Regions from separate parts of the Homo sapiens genome. Here region 1 is linked to region 2. The links are contacts of gene promoters, found by promoter capture Hi-C in blood cells and fetal thymus (Javierre and others, 2016). All regions are on one chromosome and are shown on one strand. Each heading gives the region's core, a stretch centred on a gene start or on the middle of the fragment in contact. The rest is flanking DNA. Distances are from core to core; before and after follow the strand shown.

What was found. The method cuts DNA at HindIII sites, captures the fragments that hold promoters and counts their contacts. A CHiCAGO score of 5 or more calls a contact.
Region 1: a contact is called between a fragment that was not itself captured here and the fragment with the promoter of NDUFB4 in region 2, in 2 of 17 cell types (total CD8 T cells and fetal thymus). The highest score is 6.6, in total CD8 T cells.

What each region holds. Positions count from the first base shown.
Region 1 is chr3:119,671,595-119,676,373 of GRCh38, reverse strand. It overlaps COX17 (cytochrome c oxidase copper chaperone COX17), which reads left to right. Exons shown (of 3, transcript NM_005694.2): 2 at 1,141-1,229. The coding sequence ends at 1,225. Among named protein-coding and RNA genes, the nearest start is that of COX17, 3.4 kb to the left of the region's middle. The HindIII fragment of the contact is 1,917 bases long and covers 1,237-3,153 here.
Region 2 is chr3:120,594,123-120,598,765 of GRCh38, reverse strand. NDUFB4 (NADH:ubiquinone oxidoreductase subunit B4) reads right to left here and starts at 2,430. Exons shown (of 3, transcript NM_004547.6): 1 at 2,227-2,430. The coding sequence starts at 2,406. RefSeq lists enhancers at 910-979, 2,020-2,359. The HindIII fragment of the contact is 1,375 bases long and covers 1,573-2,947 here.

The DNA.
Region 1 (4,779 bases), core at 946-3,445, 920 kb after region 2:
TCATTAGTGGTATAATGGGATAATAAGAGTGTAGGAGCTCAGTGCTTTTATTAATCCTCAGTACTTTGTAAATAATACGGGTAGGATTGAAAGACTAGTCTGAACAAATTGTTCCAGTGGTAACAGTAAGTGCTGTTGAACCTTGAATGGTATGACAGCATGATTAAGAGTCTGGGATCCACAGTCAAGGTTTGAATCTTAATCCACTAACTTGGTGACCTTGAGCCTCATGTGTCTGTAAAATGACTCTAATAAAAGAAACTCCCTCCAGTATTATTGTAAAGGTTAATGATACAAGCCATGTCAAGTGGCTAACACAGTATACATGGCAATAAATGATCAATGAATGCTAGCTATTATCTTCACAATGATCTCACTATCCCAGGCAATCTCCCATTTGCAGGCAGCTCTTGAGCTATTGAAGGATGGGTAGAGTTTCCATGGAAGGAGAACCTATTCCCTTTGTTAAATTCCCTTTGCCTCGATTGCCTCAGACCACGTGGGTTCTCCCCAAATATCCATAGTCAGGAGTCAGTTTTTCCTTGTAATTGAATTGGGCTTAACTTGATTATTTGCAAAATCACATTTTCAGGCCTTAGAAATAAAGCTGTGTAGTCCTAGTCTTTACTTTGTGAATTTTACAAGTAAAATATTCTTTGATCATCATGAGGGGGTGTTTATCTCGGTCTCCTGGCTACCAGATGTTTTTGATGTAATTAGAAGTAGATTTATTTGGTTGTGTTTGAATGTAGGGCAAAATCAGAAAGTTAATTTCTCTGTGATAATAAGCAAAAAATTGAGCTGTTCTCTGTGCCCTTCATTTAGCATAAATATTTTACTCAGTTTATTTCTTTATAGAGCAGTGTTACTCCTTGGATATTGACTAGAGGCAATATTTAATATGCGTGATTATTTCTTATCAGATTTCCCCCCCAAAATCACTTATCTGTGGAATGTCTTCATAGGCATGGGCATATCATAAGATCAAATAAAAACAAAGCTGTTTGAGGTAATAGCGTTTGTTTTAATTCCAGCTACATTCCATTATACCCGTGTTTTGTCTCACTCCCCATCACTATCATGCATACTTAATAATGTGCTTAATGCATATTTAGATAACAAGTACATTTTGTTTTATAGTATCATCGAGAAAGGAGAAGAACACTGTGGACATCTAATTGAGGCCCACAAGGAATGCATGAGAGCCCTAGGATTTAAAATATGAAATGGTAAGCTTCTTGCTTCAAAGTTGTGTATTGCTTTACAGATTTAGCAACAATTGGGCTACATTCTCTCTGAAAGGTAGTTCACCTGGTTAATCTAAAATGCTTAAGTATCAATTTGAAAAAACCATGATTTTTCAGTTCCCAATGAAGGGAGTAAATTATGTCAGTAAAGACAGTCATTTAGCGGATTGGGGAAGGGGAGAATTGAGCTTTTAAGAAAGGGTTTGACAAAAGCCTTTAGGTCCCATGGCTTTAGGAAAATTGACTGAGGGAACTAAAAGAAACATATTCTCTTTCTTGTTTCTAATAAATATTGTGGGACTTCAGTAAATGCTTTTTTTTTTTTTTTTTTGAGACAGGGTCTCACTCTGTTACCCAGGCTGGGGTGAAGTGGCCCAATCACAGCTCATTGCAGCCTCAACCTGGGAGGTTCAGGTGATCCTCCCCTCAGCCTCCTAAGTAACTGGGACTACAGGTGTGGGCCACCGTGCCTGGCTAATTTTTTGTGTTGTTTTTTAGAGATGGGGTTTCACCATCTTGCCCAGGCTGGTCTCAACCTCTTGGACTCAGGCAATCCTCCTGCCTTGGTCTCCCAAAGTGCTGGGATTAAGAGGTGTGAGCCACTATGCCTGGCCAAGAAATGCTTTTAAGTAGGGAGTGGGTATCCCACGGAAGTATTGCTTTCTGAAAAATGAAAATGGAATTGTAGCATGCTTTATTCGAATAAAACTAAAGCCTCAGGCCATTTTTTTTTTAATTAAAAAGTAAACTTTAATGTCAAAAATGCAAACTTGGGGAAGACAGAAAAGATCACACACAAGGCTGTCACTTCACACTTGGAAGGTTGCACAGCGGCCGGGCAGAGGTGCTCCTCACTTCCCAGACGTGGGGCAGCCGGGCAGTGGTGCTCTTCACTTCCCAGACAGGGCAGAAGCCGGGCCGAGGCACTCCTCACTTCCCAGACAGTGGGCAGCTGGGCAGAGACGCTCCACACTTCCCAGACGGTGGGGCGGCCAGGCAGAGGCGCTCCTCACATCCCAGACAGGGCGGCAGCTGGGCAGAGGCGCTCCTCACATCCCAGACGGGGCAGCAGCTGGGCAGAGGCGCTCCTCACTTCCCAGACGGGGCAGCAGCCGGGCAGAGGGGCACCTCACTTCCCAGATGGGGTGGTGGCCAGGCGGAGAGGCACCTCACTTCCCAGACGGGGTGGCCGGACAGAGGTACTCCTCACTTCCCAGACAGTGGGCAGCCGGGCAGTGGCACTCCTGACATCCCAGACAGGGCGGTGGGCCTCAGGCCATTTTTAAAAGAACTTGGAACTCTTAACCCATTTTAAGTGCTGAAAGGGACCTTAAGTGGTATGTGTCCAACAATTCCACAAACAAATGATACTCTTTTGTTTGGAAGCTCTTTCTTCAGTTATCAACTTAGCTCACCCCCTCACCCCACTCCCTCTTTACTCAGGTCTCTTTCAAAAGTCTCCTTATTAGAGAGGCTTTCCCTCAACACCCCATGTAAATTACATCCCTTCCCCATCACTCTATCATGGTGCTGTCCTAAGACCTTTCTGTGAAGATGGAAATGCTCTGTATCTGCACTTGCCAGTCTGGTAGCCACTAGCCATATGTGGCTGTTGAGCACTTGAATTGTGGCTGGTGAGAGTGAGGTACTGAATTTTTAGTTTGTAAAAATTTTAATAGCTACATGTGGCTAGTGGCTACTCTATTCTATACACTGTCACCTGCATGATACATATATTTTTAATTACCTGTGTTGCTTCACGGCAGCTAGAATGTAAGCTCTGAGAAAGTAGGAATTTTCTATTTCATTTACTGTCATATCCCCACTACCTATAACAGTGCCTGGCTCATAGTAGGTGCTTAATGGAGGATTGTTAAATGAATGAATAAATAAGGAAATTAAAGCTTATAGTTATGAAATGGCCCCCAAGGTGGGTTGTGCAGTATCAGAACTGGAGCCTCAGTCTCCATGCCGATTCCCTCTGCTTTTTGCCCCTACCCTAACTTCCACACCACACTACCACTTTTAACTTAATAACAGCTGAGAGAGAATGCCAAAGCCATATGCCAATATATTAGTACTAGAGAGCCTGGCTTCTTTCCCTTGCACCTCTTTCCTGCCTCTTTGGAATTTCACATATGGCCAGTCTTCCTCACTGAGCTATAAAAAAGGAGGGATAAGGAACTTGTCGCAAGCTGATAAGAAGTTACTGTGTAATGGAAAACAGTCTAGGCTGAAAGTCCTGAGGCTTTGTTTTTATTCTCCTGATGTTTAGTTTATCATGTTTTTAAGTTTAGCTACATTTAGCTTCATCAAGACATTACTCCTCTGAATTTCACTTATTATTTATAAAAAGAGAACCATAATACATTTTGTGATTCTATATATAGTATGGTATATCTACTGTTGTGTAAATGATATACTTAAGTTGCTTTTAGAATAGATGGTTATTTAAAGAAATCCCATAATGAACTATTTTATAAAATAAGTAAATTTGAAGGGGAGTGTGTTCTTAAAAAGTATGTGTACTTTATTAACTATTTTTAAAGATGCAACCTTAACATTTGTACATGGTTTCCTTGTTCATGATCTAACTCCCTCGTCAGTTGTGTAAGCTGTAGGCTTGTGCTGAACTTGCCTTGATAAAAAGGGGTGATTAAATAAAAAGAAATGCTAATTTTAGGAATATCAAAAGCTTATCTTGGACTTCATCTGAACCACAAAGGTGGTACAATTGTTATAAGTGGCATATATTCAAAAGTATCATATGATATCATAGTTTTCTTTATGTTATCAGGGCAGAGAGTGAGAATTATGTTTGTGTACTTCATTTGTGTGTAAAAGAAAATGCAAAAGCTTTAGACTTAGAAAATCTACTGCTTAACTGATTGTGTGGTCTTGGGCAGGTCCTTAACTTTCTGTACCTTGGTTTCCTCATCCGTAAAATGGAGACAATAATACATGCCCAAACTACTTCATAGAGTTGTGATGATTCAATGTAAAATAAATCATCTGTAAAAACCAGAACAGAATAGCTCATACCTTTAGAGTTGTGGATAGCAGACATTCAGTTGAGGTCTGTTAAGTATATGACTTGATTATTATTGAATCCTGGTTACAAGAAGAACAATCTGAATCCATATAGGACCCTTCTGAGAATTCAAACTGCCATGTTTTTCATTTTCAGTGTAATAATATTTTGGGAAGAGGACTGGGTGTTGGATCCTTATTGGTCCCAGGTGTCCTATTTCCCCAACCTCCATGGGGAAATGGAAGCACAGTGAAGTCAAAAAAGACTTGCTCAAGTTAGGAGTGGATAGTGGTAGAATTAGATTAGAGTTAAGATTTTTATATTCTCTAAATCACAGGCACTTTACACTTCACGCCTTGTACTTAATGAGATTTTATTCCAACATATTCATTTTTAGGATTGCACATAATCTTGATCTTCAATCTTAAAACCTCATTATGAATGCTAATTAGAAAGACTTGTTGCGGAAATGTACAGTTGCATATAACCCAGTAAACAGGC
Region 2 (4,643 bases), core at 1,181-3,680:
ACACTCTCCTGCCTAATGGCCCTTGCACTTGCCGTTCTCTGATGAGTAGGCTGCCTTCCTAGAGAGCTAGGTCCCTCACCCCACTTCTTTCAGATCTTTATTCAGATGTCACCTTCAAACAGAGGGCTTCCCTGGGCCTAAGATTGTAGCTGCTTACCTCCCCTACTACTTACACACACTCCAAATCTCCCCTGCTTTATTTTTTTTCTCATCACTTACCACTAACATGTTAAATGATTTTAATTTTTTAACTTGTTTCTTGTCTCCCCTACTAGAAAGTTTGTTCTACAAGGACAGGAATTTTTGCCTGTTTTGATCTCCATTGTTATCTTGGCATGTAAAATAGGGCCATAACAGACCCTGAGCAATTATTTATTGATTCAATCAATCATTCTTAAAGATTAGGCAAGATGGCCAGGCACAGTGGCTCAAGTCTGTAATCCCAGCACTCTGAGAGGCGGAGACAGGAGGATCGCTTGAGCTCAGGAGTTCAAGACCAGCCTGGGCAAAATGATGAAACTCCATCTCTATAAAAAATACAAAAACTTAACCGGACATGGTAGCGCACATCTGTGGTCCCAGCTACTTGGAAGGCGGAGGTGGGAGGACAGCTTGAGCCCGGGAGGCAGAGGTTGCAGTGAGCCGAGATCATACCACTGCACTCCAGCCTGGGTGACAGAGTAAGATCCTGTCTCAAGGGAAAAAAAAAAAAAAATTAGGCAAGAGAATTTACATGTATTGATTAATAAATGATAGTGTCACACACTCATTTAATCAACAGAACCAAAGAGACTGGTAGTATTACCTCTATTTACACATGAGAAAATTGAAACTACCCTGAGGCATACAGCTAGAAGACAGAAGATCTTGGTTTCAATTTCAGGTCTGACTGAGGCCTTATTCTTTTTTAATGCATCACACTAACACATCAAACCCAATCATGTGAGTTTGTAATAAATGTGTCTCTCTGCACCCTCTTCCCAAGTTAACAAGGTTCTGGCTGGAGACAGTATAACCAACTAGTTAAAAGCAGATGCTGTGGGTTACACAAACCAGGGTTAGAATTTTGCTCTATCACCTACTAAAGAGGTATCTCTGTATGACCTACTTGTCCTTCCCATGTTGTCTTCTCATCTGTAAAATGGGGACAGTAGTAGAGCTTAATCATCCAAATAGTTGTGATATGTAAATAGTACTCAAAAAGAGTTTTAGCACAGTGCCTGGCACATTGTAACTTTCATTCAATCCTCATAACTTCCAAAAATTCCAAAACACCAATGCAACGTGTGGGAAAAGTCCAGTCCTGTTCTGTTAACATCATATTTAACCTACTTAGTTCCTGTATAGAAAACTACCTAATGAAAGCACACCTGTTAATTACCAGTTTACTGGGCATATATTATGTGCTGCGAATGTTACACAGACTGTCTTATTTAACCTCATAATGCACATCATTTATATACGAAACCAGGAAACTATAATTCAGAGGAGTTGAAGTTGCCCAAGGTAACAGAGTTAGCCAATGAGTAGTGCTTTGGGTTCTGACTCCAAAGCCTAGAACTTCAGCAAGCTTCAGGGTCTTTAAAAGATGCAGGTTGAAGGAATCACTGTATTCCCATCAGGAGAGAGCAGTATCCCTATGAGCTGTGAACTGAAAGGTAAACACCAGCTCTTTAAAATTATATATATATATAAAATATATATGCATATATATAGAATATAATATATATGCATATATATAAAATATATATGCATATATATAGAATATAATATATATGCATATATATAGAATATATATATAATATAATATATATATGCATATATATAGAAACATTTTCTGAACACGCCTTACGAACGAGGCACTGTGCTAGGACAGTCACATACTCTATCTCATTTAATCCTAACAGCCTGATAAAAGAGTAAGCACTATATTACGCCCATTTTGCAGACAGAAAATCGAGGATAAGCAGAGTGAATAACGTTCTTAAGGTCACGCAGGCAGGAAGTGATCAAGCCAGGATTCAAACCCAGCCAGGTCTGAGTCCAGAGCCGGTCCTCTCGAGGGCCAAGCTCTGGCAAAGGTAAAAGGGTAGTGAGTTGGCTAGGCCTGGAAGAGGACCTGCGTCTGAGATACTGATCGGGAGCGGTGGCCGACCCTTTGCGTGGTCTCTCTCGGTCTCTCCCAGGACTCGGGCCCTATTCCCGCCTGGGAGGCCCCACACTCACGATGAGCCCTCGGCGGTTGGGATCGTTGTACTGAAGCAGGTACTCTCGTTTCAGCTGGGCTCTTATGGCCAACCGCTCGGCTTGCGCCCGCCGGGTTTCCGGAGATATGTTGTATTCGGCTGGGTCGAGGGTCTCAGGCAGAGTGCGCAGGCTCGACGGCTTATACTTTGGGAACGACATCTTGGCGAACCAGGGCACAATTGCGCCTGCGCGATTCTGAGGCCCTTTGTCTATGCTGACCTTCAGCTTCAGGAAGTGCGCCTGCGCGTTAGCAGAGGTTGGGGATGTCGTTAACAAGGAGCTCCGCCTCTTTCTCCTACCTTCCCGAACACGGCGCGTTCGCTCGGTGATATGCGCATGCGCGAAGTGCTCTTCTCGCAGTGCGCCCTGCCCCACCGCCGCTCCCCACCTACTCATCTGTCACCGCGCTGCTTCTTCCTAGCAGCCTTGTCTCTACTGACATAACCAGGGCTTATTATGTAAAGTTGAGCTGTGTGGGACTGGCTGTGGAGTCAGAAGTCCGGGTTTTCATTGTGGGTCTAACCGTGCTGTGTCACCTTGGATAAGTCACTTAAAGTCTCTGAGTTTCCTTTTCCTTATCCTGGAGATAATGACTCCTGTCCACCTAGCAAAGTTGTTGTGAGGATTAAATAAGCTAACAAATAGATCACAAAGTGCTTTGCAAAACAGAATTCCCTACCCAAGAAGAAGAGAATAAGCTTTTCTGTACTTTACCATGCTAGATTCATACAACATTAAGTGTAAGCTTATTTTTCACAGGTACGAAATAATGATTAATAGGAAAAATGATGTTATAAGAGAAATGTTGCCTGACTGACTATAGAAGGTCAGGAAGAAAATGAGATACTGAATAAAGCTCATGAGAAAACATCTTAGTTAAAATACTAAAACCTCTTGCCTAAAATCCTTAGCACTCTTCAGATGCAAAGAATTAAAAACATCCTTACAGGTATGAAAATACTCATAGGGGCATGTATCTTATTGTAAAAGACGATCTGGGGCGAAAACTGAAGTAATCAGAAACAAAACCTTCTCTGTCCCTACTGTCCTTCCTTCTCCCCAGTTACCAAGGAGAAAAACAACTTCAAGTTTCACAGCAGGGTCTTTGGGTTCCCCTTCTCCTCAGGGGAAAAAATGTAAACAATATTTCCATAACTCGGGCAAAGAAGGATGGATCAAAAGAGAGCCCCAGCTTGGCTGAAACGTCTGGGGGCGCGTAGGTATGTTGGGAAATGGTTGCTAGAAAAGGGACCTAGAAAGTGTTGGCATTTGAAATGATGAGAAGCAGCACTGCTGTCAAATTTATTCAACATTTTAATACTGTTTTAAAATATTTATTAAGCACCCACCGCGTGAAGCACACAGCACACTAGTCAGTGTTAAGTCAATCTTCTAGGCTCAGTGGGGGAAATCCAGACAAAATGGAAGATGGGGTGTTTGCCTTTCGGGAGCTGACAATCAGGCAGTACAGAAAGAATAGGCAGAAATGGTAATATTTCAAAGTAGTCTAATGTCCAGATGAATATAGAGCAAAATGGACTCATGAGGATTCAGGCTGAGAGAATGTAGAAAAAATGAACACAAGACGAGTTACTCAGACTCGATTTTAAAGGAGAAAAAAAAAGGAAATTCTGACTTGTTCAAAGGTGTTTTGAAATACTAAGAAAATAATACAATATGAAAAGCAAGAGCAGTTTATAAAATTCTAAAGACTACATAAAGTTTCCAAAACCTGTATAGATTAGACACTGATCTAGGAAGGAGAGCATGTAAAAAGAATAAAAGGATAAAGGAATGAGTCCAGCGAGTACGAACTGATGCAGGGCAGGCGAGCCCCAAAGTGGGGCTTAGGCAACCAGGGAACTTGGCTTTGCCCAGGAAAGAATTCAAGGGCAACCCGGAGGTAGAAGAAAACAATTTTATTGAAGAGGCAGTGTTACAGCTTTGGTGGTGTCACAACCGTGACTGCTCCTGTAGAGCAGGGCCACCTCATAGGCAGAAAGCACCAGCTCAGGCCAGCTTTGAGTCACATTTATACCCACATTTGGCAGTTTGGCCGGGCGCGGTGGCTCACGCCTGTAATCCCAGCACTTTGGGAGGCCGAGGCGGGCGGATCACGAGGTCAGGCGATCAAGACCATCCTGGCTTACACGGTGAAACCCCGTCGCTACTAAAAATACAAAAAAAAATTAGCTGGGCGTGGTGGCGGGCGCCTGTAGTCCTAGCTACTCGGGAGGCTGAGGCAGGAGAATGGTGTGAACCAGGGAGGCGGAGCTTGCAGTGAACCGAGATCGCGCCACTGCACTCCAGCCTGGGCGACAGAGCGAGACTCCGTCTCAAACAAACAAACAAACAGACAAAAAAGTAAAGAGGCAGTTTATGCAGACATTTCTAGG